3 separate regions of the Homo sapiens genome follow, and all the other regions are linked to region 1. Evidence: promoter capture Hi-C in 16 types of primary human blood cells and fetal thymus (Javierre and others, 2016). All regions are on one chromosome and are shown on one strand. The core of a region is centred on a gene start or on the middle of the fragment in contact, and the rest is flanking DNA. Distances in the headings are between cores, read along the strand shown. Region 1 holds the start of TPRKB (TP53RK binding protein). Region 2 has its middle 23 kb from the start of BOLA3. Region 3 overlaps CCT7 (chaperonin containing TCP1 subunit 7).

What was found. Contacts are between HindIII fragments. The CHiCAGO score rates a contact against its expected background, and 5 or more counts as called.
Region 2: a contact is called between a fragment that was not itself captured here and the fragment with the promoter of TPRKB in region 1, in 1 of 17 cell types (fetal thymus). The highest score is 5.3, in fetal thymus.
Region 3: a contact is called between a fragment that was not itself captured here and the fragment with the promoter of TPRKB in region 1, in 1 of 17 cell types (total CD8 T cells). The highest score is 5.2, in total CD8 T cells.

Annotation. Positions count from the first base shown.
Region 1 is chr2:73,735,515-73,739,562 of GRCh38, forward strand. It overlaps TPRKB (TP53RK binding protein), which reads right to left and starts at 1,831. Exons shown (of 5, transcript NM_016058.5): 1 at 1,788-1,831. RefSeq lists enhancers at 2,093-2,172, 2,213-2,272. The HindIII fragment of the contact is 15,665 bases long and covers 90-4,048 here.
Region 2 is chr2:74,123,099-74,127,246 of GRCh38, forward strand. It overlaps a transcript of TET3 not described here. Among named protein-coding and RNA genes, the nearest start is that of BOLA3, 23 kb to the right of the region's middle. RefSeq lists an enhancer at 475-1,177. The HindIII fragment of the contact is 788 bases long and covers 2,386-3,173 here.
Region 3 is chr2:73,235,267-73,239,737 of GRCh38, forward strand. CCT7 (chaperonin containing TCP1 subunit 7) reads left to right here. Exons shown (of 12, transcript NM_006429.4): 2 at 4,377-4,471. Among named protein-coding and RNA genes, the nearest start is that of CCT7, 3.2 kb to the left of the region's middle. The HindIII fragment of the contact is 881 bases long and covers 957-1,837 here.

The DNA of each region.
Region 1 (4,048 bases), core at 581-3,080:
TTGACCCAAAGATATTCATTCCACGCATGGAAATTAAGCAGAGAGGGTACAATTATTAAATAATCAATGTCGCTCCTTTCTTGGACATAAGCTTAACAAGAAAAGGATAGGTTATTATATATAAAGACATAAAAGAAACATAAAAGACAACTTGAATAACCAGAAAGACATGACCATATCTTTGAATGGAAAAACTATGTATTGCAAAAATTTCTTTAAAACAATTTCTATCAAATTCTTAATAAAATATTTTGGTGGGGCAATTTGAGACTCATTTTATCCTTTTACCTGGCAGATTATATTTCTAGAACTCTTTCTGATGGAAGTCATTAGGAATCCAATAATTATATAAGATGTTCCTCTCATTATTTTAACAGTAAAAAGTTGCAAATAACCTATCTAGCTAATGATGGGATTAGTTGTTATTTAACAACCATTAAAACATGTGGTCTTGACGGTGTGTAAAAACGGCAATAAATAACATTAAGTAAGTAAAAACATCTGAATGGAAAACAAAACACAAACTGGCCAAAATGTGGGTTTTTTAAAAGGCTTTTAAACAAATATTAAAAAGAAAATACACCAAAAAGTTAATGTTATCTCTTATTTAGAATTAATTTGACTTTTTCTGTTACAAACAGAAAAAAATATATTTGTGAACGATATCCTGGCACACAGTTCAATCATTAGTCATGCTAAGGTGGAAAAAATGGATACAGAAAGACATAATCAGTAGGATCCCAATTATATAAAAAGATACACATATTTTTTTAAAATACATGAAAGAAACACTAAAATATGACCATCTTGGGTAGTGAGGTTATGAGGTGATTTTTATTGTCCTTTATATAAAAGAAAATATTTTGTTATGTATGTTCTGAATTTTCTACAGTAAGCACACAAAACATGAGTACACATAATAAGAAAGGAAAAAAACGTGCTTTTTAACACTGAGTGGGGGGAAGAACCCTTAGAAAACTTCAAAATAGTTTGTTCTTGTTTAGCGTAATTTACTCACTCAGGTCAGAAACTTGGAATCATCGTTGAGACCCAACCTGTCACTCAAATCCTATATCTAATCCGTAAAGTCCTGAATTTTCACCTGCTAAATATACTTTTGATTCGTCCACTTCTCTCCCATACGCTAGGTCACATCGCTCATCTACAGCAGTAGCCTTCTGAGTGGTTTCTCACAATTCCTGCCCTCCTATAATCCAGTCGTCACCAGCAGTTACAGTGATCCTTTCAAAATGTACATCAGATCTTGTCATTCTGCTGCTCTTATGATAAAGCCCCAACTTTGTGTCACGGTGTTCCACACTCTACGATCTGGTCCCTGCCTCTCCTCTTCTGCTACCGCCGCAATGGCCTTCTCTAAGCTCAAGTCACCAACCTTTCTCCCCGATTCTGCCCTATCGGACAGGTAGTTCCCTCTCTCCTTTCATCTCCGCCTGACGCACTCCTCCCTCCCTTCAACTCCATTTGGAGTCCATTTACTACAGCGCCCAGAACCCCGGCACTACGGCTCTTTTTAGTCTGAGGACTAGCTCCTTTTTGGGCCCAATCACAACTCTGAAGAATCCTGCGCCTATCCGCTGCATGTCTCCTCACTAAACTATTTCTTGAGGGGACAGCCTGACTCTATCATTCTCGTGCTGCATTCCCAGGGGCTGGCCTCGTTGCCGCTTGAGAAATACCAACCGCAGCCGTTGTCCCAAAGACACTACTAAAACTGCCCGGACCCTCCCGCTCCCGAGCCTGCCCGTTAGAGCGCAAGGAAAACTCACCATCCGGCCCCCAGTGCGTCTCGGAAGAGCTCCCGCTCCGAAACAAAGCTCACAACTTCCGGAAGCGATGGCCAATCCCCGTCTTCTTCGAGCCAGTTTCCGGATAGGCCGGCTCGGGGTGGCCATCTGTTTCCGGGTCCTGGTAGGAGGGGTGCTTCCGCCCATGGTCCCGCCCATTCTTCCGCCTCCCCAACCTGGGTCCCGTCAACGGACGCGAAGGAGAACAGGGGCTGTATATCACTTCCGGCGAAGGAAATGGAAGAATCTATGGGCTGGGACCGGAAGCTGGGGTCTGGTTTTGAGTCTCGGCTTTGTCTTAACCTGTGTTGGGCGTTGCACCGGGCGACCTCAGTTTCTTCCTGTACAAGGAAAAGTACTGACCAAAATGAGTTCTACATACATTTCCGCTGCTGGAGATTTCTTTGGTTTTTGAGACAGAGTCTTGCTCTGTTACTCAGGCTGGAGTGCTGTGGTGCAATCTCGGCTCACTGCAACCTCCGCGTCCCGGTTCAAGCCATTCTCCTGCCTCAGCCTCCCGAGCAGCTGGGACTACAGGCACCCGCCACCACGCCCCGCTAATTTTTTGTATTTTTAGTAGAGACGGGGTTTCACCGTGTTAGCTAGGATGGTCTGGATCACCTGACCTCGTGATCCACCCGCCTTGGCCTCCCAAGGAGCTGGGATTAGTTCTTTTTCTGGGCCATGTCTCCTGTGACACTTTGGACTTTTGAGTTTAATGCTGGAACAAGTTAAAATTTTGGTAGGTGATTGGGAAGGCATGATTATGTTTTGCAATGTCAGAAGGACATGAGATTTGGGGGTCCAGGGATGGATTGAATATATGTCCCTGCCAAATCTCATGTTGAATTGTCCCCATTTTTGGAGGTGGGACCTGATGGGAGGTGTTTGGGTCATGGAAGTGGATCTCTCATGGCTTGGTGTCTTTGCAATAGTGAGTGAGTGCCAGGAAGATGTGGTTATTTAGAAGTGTGTGGCACCCTCCAACACAGTCTCTTGGTCCAGTTCTCACCATGTGATGTGCCTGCTCTCTCTTCTCCTTCTGCCAATAGTAAAAGCTCCCTGGGGCCTCCTCAGAGGCCAAACAGATGGTGGTACTATGCTTCCTGTACAGCCTGCAGAAACATGAGCCAATTTAACCTCGTTTCTATATAAATTACCCAGTCTCAGGTATTTCTTTGTGGCAATGCAACAGCCTAATTGCAGGGGGCAGGGGCAGGGGGAAGAGGTGGGGAGGCATGACACACTGGGCTAAAACATGAAGAACATTCGGCCAGGTGCGGTGGCTCACGCCTGTAATCCCAACACTTTGGGAGGCCGAGGCAGGCAGATCACCTGAAGTCGGGAGTTCGAGACCAGCTTGACCAACGTGGAGAAACCCCGTCTCTACTAAAAAATAAAAAATTAGCCAGGCATGGTGGCTCATGCCTGTAATGCCAGCTACTCAAGAGACTGAGGCAGGAGAATCACGTGATCTGGGGAGGCAGAGGTTGCCATGAGCTGAGATCGCGCCATTGCACTCCAGCCTGGGCAACAAGAGTGAAACTCCCTCTCAAAAAAAAATAAATAAATAAAAATTAAAATTAAAAAAAATATATATATATATATATACATATATATATGAAGGACATTCTATTTCTGGGAGACACTGGAACAGGGCCCTGGCTGGTCTGGTTAGTCTCTCTCTATCACAGGATGCTACATTCCCAGCACATTCTACAGTTATCCTAGAGAACCACAAGTGAGAAAGGAGAGAGAACTAAATTGGTCCAAGGCCACCTGGAGAACTGTCCTGCAGTCTATGCCCTTAACCCAGATTATACCCTTTAGCAAAGCTAGTCCGTTTCATATGCCCACCAACCTCCTAGTATCTGGAGGCGGAAGTTTGTCTTATCAGATCGATGTAACACCTTCACAGACACAATGTCAGTACAACATTGTTGAGCCATAGCCAGAATACATTTTACTAGGCCCAGGAGGACTACATCACAAACAGGTTGATCAGGTCTGTCTGGAGCATCAACCTAGTCCAGGATCCAGTGATCCAGGTAAGAACATAATAGGTCAAAGGTGCCAGCCCACCAAGATCTTATTAGTTGTCATGATGTTTTGCCACCTTAGGCCAATTAAGTCTACCTCCCTCCCATGTGGCAGATGTTAGATCCTCACTCAGTAAGCCAGGGCTCAGGTTCTGTTGATATTCACTGTGCCACTATAATACTGGTAGAGTTTACTACTGGCAG
Region 2 (4,148 bases), core at 1,530-4,029, 390 kb after region 1:
AAATATTGTATATTATAGAGGAAAATGAAGGTGCTGCGTGAATCTGCTTTTGGAAAAATGAAGATGAAAAGAGTTAAGTCCCTACTTTGTCAACATTGATTTGGACTAAAATGCCAAAGGTGCTAACATGTCAAATCGCTTGAATTCAGGCGGCAAAGATGGCAGTGAGCCAAGATCACACCACTCCACTCCAGCCTGAGCGACGGAGCGAGACTCTGTCTCAATGAATAAATAAATAGGCCACACGCGCTGGCTCACGCCTGTAATCCCAGCACTTTGGGAGGCCAAGGCGGGCGGATCACGAGTTCAGGAGATCAACACCATCCTGGCTAACATGGTGAAACCCTGTCTCTACTAAAAATACAAAAAACTGGACCCGGCCTGTGGGCGGAACCGACCAAGAAACACGCCAGCCAGGGCAGGGGCGTGCAGGAGGGATTCGGTAACCCCAGAGAGGAGTGGGAAATCAGGAAAGGCTGGAGTGCAGTGGCGTGATCTCGGCTCGCTACAACCTCCACCTCCCAGCCGCCTGCCTTGGCCTCCCAAAGTGCCGAGGTTGCAGCCTCTGCCCGGCCACCACCCCGTCTGGGAAGTGAGGAGCGTTTTTCTGCCTGGCCGCCCATCGTCAGGGATGTGAGGAGCCCTTCTGACCGGCTGCCCAGTCTGGGAAGTGAGGAGCGCCTCTTCCCGGCCGCCATCCCGTCTAGGAAGTGAGGAGTGTCTCTGCCCGGCCGCCCATCGTCTGAGATGTGGGGAGCGCCTCTGCCCCGCCGCCCCGTCTGGGATGTGAGGAGCGCCTCTGCCAGGCCGCGACCTCGTCTGGGAACTGAGGAGCGTCTCTGCCCGACTGCCACCCCATCTGGGAGGTGAGGAGCGTCTCTGCCCGGCCGCCCCGTCTGAGAAGTGAGGAGCCCCTCCGCCCGGCAGCCACCCCGTCTGGGAAGTGAGGAGCCCCTCCGCCCGGCAGCCGCCCCATCTGCGAAGTGAGGAGCCCCTCCGCCCAGCAGCTGCCCGGTCCAGGAGGTGGGGGGCAGCCCCCGCCCCGCCAGCCGCCCCATCTGGGAGGGAGGTGGGGGGCAGCCCCCGCCCGGCCAGCCACCCCATCCGGGAGGGAGGTGGGGGGGTCAGCCCCCGCCCAGCCAGCCGCCCCGTCCGGGAGGGAGGTGGGGGGTCAGCCCCCGCCCAGCCAGCCACCCCGTCTGGGAGGGAGGTGGGGGGTCAGCCCCTGCCCGGCCAGCCGCCCCGTCCGGGAGGTGAGGGTCGCCTCTGCCCGGCCACTGCCCCGTCTGGGAGGTGGGGGGCGCCTCTGCCCAGCCGCCACCCCGTCTGGGAGGTGTACCCAACAGCTCATTGAGAACTGGCCACGATGACGATGGCGGTTTTGTTGAATAGAAAAGGGGGAAATGTGGGGAAAAGAGATCAGATTGTTACTGTGTAGGTGTAGAAAGTAGACATGGGAGACTCCATTTTGTTCTGTACTAAGAAAAATTCTTCTGCCTTGGGATGCTGTTAATCTATAACCTTACCCCCAACCCCGTGCTCTCTGAAACATGTGCTGTGTCCACTCAGGGTTAAATGGATTAAGGGCGGTGCAAGATGTGCTTTGTTAAATAGATGCTTGAAGGCAGCATGCTCGTTAAGAGTCATCACCACTCCCTAATCTCAAGTACCCAGGGACACAAACACTGCGGAAGGCCGCAGGGTCCTCTGTCTAGGAAAACCAGAGACCCTTGTTCACATGTTTATCTGCTGACCTTCCCTCCACTATTGTCCTATGACCCTGCCAAATCCCCCTCTCCGAGAAACACCCAAGAATGATCAATAAATACTAAAAAAAAAAAAGAAAAAGGTTAAAAACTAAAAAAAAAAAAAAGGTGCTAACATGTATATTTAATACTACTCGGAATTTTTTTTCTTTTTTTTTTTGAGATGGAGTCTCACTCTGTCACCCAGGCTGGGGTGCAATGGTGCAATCTCAGCTCACTGCATCCTCTGCCTCCTGGGTTCAAGTGATTCTCCTCCCTCAGCCTCCTGAGTAGCTGGGATTACAGGTGCCTGCCACCTGCAGAGACAGGGTTTCACCATGTTGGCCAGGCTGTTCTCGAACTCCTGACCTCAGGTGATCTGCCTGCCTCGGCCTCCCAAAGTGCTGGGATTACAGGCGTGAGCCACTGCACCTGGCCTCACTTGGATTATTTTTTAATTGTGGCGCTGTTTCTCCCTACAACATGACTCTTACAGATAGCTTCAAAAGCCTGGCTGGATGGATAACACCATGGTACAATACACGTTTTCAGACAGCCACACAGTAGACTTTTAGGCATCATACACTTGAGTTTTCCTTGGCTAGTTTTGACTATAATCAAGTTTTTCATGCTGAGATGAAGCTTTACATGGAAAGCTGCTAACTGCCAATTTACAACTGTGTCATTTGAAATTCCATAAACATTTCTTCTTTTGGCAGCATTTATAAATAACAAAAAAGTTGTATTCTAGCTTCTAACCATCCTTTGTGAATAAGAAGTGTGGCATTGTGGAGGTACAGAAGACTTCAGCTCTCATATATAGTACCTGCCATAAATTAAAGTATGCTAAAATTTTTTTTTTTTTTAACTTTATAGAGATGAGGTCTCACTGTGTTGCCCAGGCTGGTCTCAAACCCCTAGCCTCAAGCAATCCTCTTGCCTCAGCCCCCTAAAGTGTTGGGATTACAGGCATGAGCCACCATGCCCAGCTGAATGTTATACTTTGTAGCTCAGTAAATTGAACTATGCTAGTTTGTTAAATTTTACCATTATTCACTTAGAGAAAATCACAAACAAAATTTAAAATCTCAATTTTCTTTGAGGCAAGGGTCTTGCTATATTGTCCAGGCTGGTCTTGAACTTGTGGCTCAGGTGATCCAACCACCTCAGCCTCTGAGTAGCTGGGATTCTCACCCTTTTTGAGTACAGAAGTAAATAAGTACTTGCACTAAAATTTTGTATTTTTTCTTAAACATGGTTAAGATTATTGTTTTCATCATAATTAACCTATCATGTCTATTTGATCCCATAGAGCCAATTGAAATCTGGAGAAATTTGGTCAGTTAACCTGTTGGTTTTTATATATGGCACCAACTGATCTCTACCAGATTGACACAGTAGATCAGCTGTTTTAATGCTGAAAAGAGAAGCTTATATAAATACAGTGCACATCTATTAATGCTTCTCACGTCTGTAGTTCTGTTTCAGGCAGAGGTTTTTTGGCATAGGACCTGTATTCAGCTCACACTTTCCTAGGCTGGCTATGAGTAGAATGCCTCGTGGCAGTAGCTACACTCATACATAGGCATTGATCTTAGATCTGTGTAGAGTTTTAAATCATTGGCATCTTTTAGGCCTAAATTTTATATTTGCTGGATTTTTTTTTTTTTTTTTTTTGAGATGGAGTCTTGCTCTGTCACCCAGGCTGGAGTGCAGTGGTGCATCTCTGCTCACTGCAAGCTCCGCCTCCCGGGTTCACACCATTCTCCTGCCTCAGTGTCCCACGTAGCTGGGACTACAGGCACCCGCCACCACTCCCGGCTAATTTTTTGTATTTTTTCAGTAGAGACGGGGTTTCATCGTGTTAGCCAGCATGGTCTCAATCTCCTGACCTCATGATCCACCTGCCTCGGCCTCCCAAAGTGCTGGGATTACAGGCGTGAGCCACCACACCCAGCCTGGAATTTTTTTAAAGCAGTAAATGTAAACGCTAACTTTAGAAAATATTAATAATATGATTAATTTTAGCCAGAATAAAATAATTTGCCATCTTTATAGAAATCTGGCCACGTAGGAATTAGCATTCTTAAAATTGGCACTGAAGCCAGAAGATGGATAGTGAAATTGGTCACATGCATAGACAGCTACCAAGTCCAGTGTTTAATGGTGCCCAGTGAAGAGGATTGAAGCACACACCAGAGAAGCAGCTGTAACTGGGTCAGAAGAAAAGTGTCAGGCTGAGACTTAGTTTTAGGTAGAAAAATGAGCTGCTTGCCTCTACATTCATTATTGGCTCATCTCATAAACTCAAATGAGGGGATCAGAAGCTGGCAGAAGGGACGGACTCATGCTTGTTGATCCGGATGACCTCTGTTTCAAGGTTCCAGCAATGAGTTAGCTTAC
Region 3 (4,471 bases), core at 147-2,646, 500 kb before region 1:
CGATGGTATCTCCTGGGTTGTTATTGAGTAGGGCCAGCTTCCGAGGTGGTGTTTGACCCTGACTGAGATACTGCTTTCTGTGCACTTGGCAGTTCACTTATTCATTTTGGCCTGTCCGACTCTATCTTCTGCTCTTTTCCTGCTTCCTGCAGCTTTTCTCTGTCCTGTTAGGGACGCAGACACCTTTTAGGTGTTCTACCAAATGCCCTATGAATCCCGCTTGTACCCAAGGTAGAAGGAAATTAGCATTTAACAGTACTTCCTCTCCCCTTTATGTCTCTAGCATTGCTCATTCTTGAAGTCGTCTTCATCTTCTGTGCAGAGGCAGCATAGTACAGCAGTTGAGAGTAAGGCCTCTGGAGCTACACTGAATGCCTAGGTTTGTAACTTAGCTCTGCCACTTACTAGCTGTGTGACTTTGAGCATGTTATTTAATTTCTGGTTCTCAGTTTGTCAGTGTGCCTAGCAGATAGTAAGCACTCAGCAATGTTAGCTCTTACTCGGCGAGGTGGTTGTTTGCTTCCTTTCATCTCTGAAATCAGTCCATCCCGCTGCCAGGGCTTCCGTAAGAGCTTTGGTTCACATTCACACAGCTAGGGATCAGAACCGCCATTCTCTGCCGTGATAAAACTTCACCAGTGGGCTCTAGATCATCACACTTGGATTTTCCCTGAACTGACCCCTCCTCTGTCAGATTGACGTTTCCCTGCTGTATTGGCTCTTGATATCTCCTCCCCATTTTTGGAATGTGAAACTTCTATCTCCAAGAGTCTTCCTGTCTTCAAATTGGCCCCTGATATTCTAGAATACTTCTGTAATCGAAAGAGAGGTGAAAAGGTCCCCTGAAACCTCAGTCCTGTGATGTTGGTACAGCTTGCATAAAATGTATGTCCTTGCCTTTGTGGCGTTGAGCGCTGTGTGCCTTGGCATAGACACACTTGTTTTGTAAGCCATTAAGCTTAATGATGCTTAGTGAAAGTTTTAAAGTAGGATGAAGAGGAAGATCAGTAAGCTGAAATTCCAAAACCTTCCATTATACCTGTGGCCAATTACTGGAGTCTGCTCTTGTTTCTTTTTCTTTTTTTTTTTTCCCGAGATGGAGTCTTGCTCTGTTGCCCAGGCTGGAGTGCAGTGGCACCATCTTGGCTCACTGCAACCTCCATTCCCAGGTTCAAGCAATTCTCCTGCCTCAGCCTCCCAAGTAGCTGGGATTACAGGCATACGCCACCACGCCTGGCTAATTTTTGTATTTTTAGTAGAGACGGGGTTTCACCGTGTTGACCAGGCTGGTCTCGAACACCTGACCTTGTGATTCACCCACCTTGGACTCCCAAAGTGCTGGGATTACAGGCGTGAGCCACCGCACCCGACCTTGTTTCTTATTTATTAGAGGAATAAAAAAAAGGAGCGAGGTTGAAAGTAACTAAGGGATGGAAACTGGACTTTGCATACAGTGCCTGCTGCTGGGGAACTGTTAGAAGAGGACCTATCCTGCTTGTCTTGGCTTGACTCAATCCAGCTCTGCCACCTTTTCCACCCCATAGATGCTCTCTACCCAGCCTGCTGTTTCTTCAGGGCCTGCAAAGCATAGGGAACCTGGGGAATCTGTGGTTAGCTGCTTCCAAGCTCTTCTTGCATTGTGCTTAAGAACTCTCAGTAAATGTAGTGTTACTGTAGTGCCAGTGCTTTTCTCCCCAAAAGTCAAGAAGCCAGTGCTGTCAAGCACTTACAAGTAGCAGTTGGATTTTCAGCCCCAAAAGCTGCTGAATATTGCTTCATGTGTGGCCAAATCTTGGCACTCTTCAAATTAAGGTTATTTTGGTCCTTGTCTTTGGAAAGCTTGTACTTAAGCTGGATGGTGATAAAAAGTTGCGAGCAAGGGCAAGTGAAGAGAAAGTTATGGGATTCCCCTATTCAGATGCCCTTGTTTATTACTGTAGAGAAAACTTCTTGGAAGAATTGGAGCTCTGAGGAATTGGTGGCCTGGTGGTGAGAAAGTGGTTTTGGTAGAAGATGGCAGAGTGACTATTTTAGATGGGGGTACACTTTGCAGGTTGAGGTGAGAAAAAGTATACACAAGCATTGGGTAAGTTAACCTGTTGAGGTGAAAGAACCTGTTGAAGGTGATAGGAAGTGATTGAGACTCATGTTAGTTTTTGATTTAAAGTGTAAGACTCCATCCGTGGCAGGGGTGGACCAGAGAAGACTTGGGGCTGCCATAAGGAATGATTTAGCAAGACTGGGAGATGGTAGGGCCTTTCAGGACACACATCTTTCCCTTACAGAAGGTGCCAGGGACTGGGCCAGCTGAAGAGCCAGAAAGAATGCTGGGAGTATAGAGAAGCCATTTCTTGCCACCAGACCTGGGACACTCCAGCAAAAGGAAGGAATTTTCCCTTCAGTTGACGCCTGATCCCAAATGTAGGGGTTTACATGACAAGCATTCTTTTTAAAATAAAAAATAAAAGGAGTAATGTATGATTATTTGACAAGCATTTAAAAAAATTTAATGAGGGCCTGGCATGGTGCCTCATGCCTGTAATCCTAGCACTTCAGAAGGCTGAGGCAGGAGGGTTGTTAGAGGCCAGGAGTTGGAGACCAGCCTGGGCAACATTTTTTAAATACAAATTTAAAAAATTAGCCAGGTGTGGTACCTCATGCATTGCGGTCCAGCTACTCAGGAGGCTTGAGCTTATAGTAAGCTATGATCTCACCACTGCACTCCAGCATGGGTGGTGGAGCAAGACCCTGTCTCTTAGAAATATATATTAAAAAATGAATAATATATTAAATTACTCCCACTCTCTTATTCCGTAGAGTTTATTGGGTATTTTTCGTTTTCTTTTTGTAGAGACAGGGTCTTGCCATGTTCCCCAGGCTGGTCTTGAACTCCATGAGCTCAAGTGATCCTCTTTTTTCTACAGTGGTTTTTGTTTTTTATGTAAATCACAGTATGCCATTCCTCTGCTGAAAGCTTCCCAGGGCTTTCCTTTTTAGGAATGAAATCTGAACTCCTCACCATAGTGTGTCTACGAGTGTGTATGTGATCTGGTTCCTGCCTGCCTCTTCAGCTTTATTCCAGTCTTCCTCTTGCTTACTACCCTCCAGCTGCGCTGGCCAAAAGAGTTGAACTTTTTAAGGAATTGACCAGTTAATAAGGAATCAGCCTCATGAGTGGCAAGACTCTGTCTTTGGCAGGAATTCCTCACTCCTCATTGTTAGGTTGGGAAAGCTCTGTGCTTTCCTGTGCCTTCCTTGCTCAGACATCCACGTACCTCTAAGGACTAGGTGATGGCTTTCAAACTTTTTATTGCATTCCACAGTAAGAAATACATTTTTAATCATAGCCTAGTAACAAATTTAACACAATAAAAGTTTTGAAATAGTATTTATCCTTACTACATTCTGTGTCACACACAAAATTAGCCAGAAACACTTGAGAAGACTGGATCTAGTTCGTGGGCTTATCTCTGAAGGCTCAGATTTGAATGTGGAGAGAAAGTAGTCTGGTTTGCTAAGCTGAGAAATTGCTCTCTCTGCTAATAATGGTGGTCACTAGAGCAAAGATATCTGAGCGGGCCCTTTAAAACAAGCAAGTATCCCTGTTTCTCAGTTTCTAAAGCAGGTCTGCAAATGAAGCCCTTACGGGGATAGGGAATGTTCTGGAGACCAATGCAATATAGAAAGAGGAAAACTTCTTTGGGGTATCTGATTGGAAATTAGTCACACAGAAGCTTTATTCAGCCAGCATGAGAGATGGAAACATTGCTGTATGAATTAGATTTGCCATCATTTTTCAAAACAGGGCAAAGGTGCTGTTTGTTTCTCTGCCTGTTTTCCTACACTGCAGCTGAACATCACTGTTACATAAAGCTGACTGCCTAGGCATCTCTAGGACAACACCTCAAGCTCTTGGCATCTTGCATTTTGCATCAGTGTCCCATCTGCTTCTCTAAGATTGAGCTGTAACACAGACAAGTGGATGTTTTGCTGCGGAATGAACACTTAGCAGGGTCTGCCTCTTCCTCCTGTGTTGTGACCCAATTCCTCAGCACAGGGAGTAAGGTCAGAAGTTGAAAAGGCCATGGTCATTCAGCTGGGTACTGGAGAACTCATGATTTTTTCTTTTAGATTAGGTCAGTGCTTCTCAAACCATTTTCCTGTCTAGCATACCTGCAGGGTAGGCTAAATTTGATAGTGTCTCTGGAGGTAGAGGCTGGTTGGGGAATGGATGTGGTAGACAGTTGGGGGAATGTGGTTTAAGAAGACCTCTAGATAATTCTGTTAAGGGAGAGATGGGAGCATTTTCCCCTTTCCCCTGCCAGTCTCATTATAATAGATGATTATTAAAAGCAGTTAATTTCTTTCTTTTCTAGCCCACACCAGTTATCCTATTGAAAGAGGGGACTGATAGCTCCCAAGGCATCCCCCAGCTTGTGAGTAACATCAGTGCCTGCCAGGTGATTGCTGA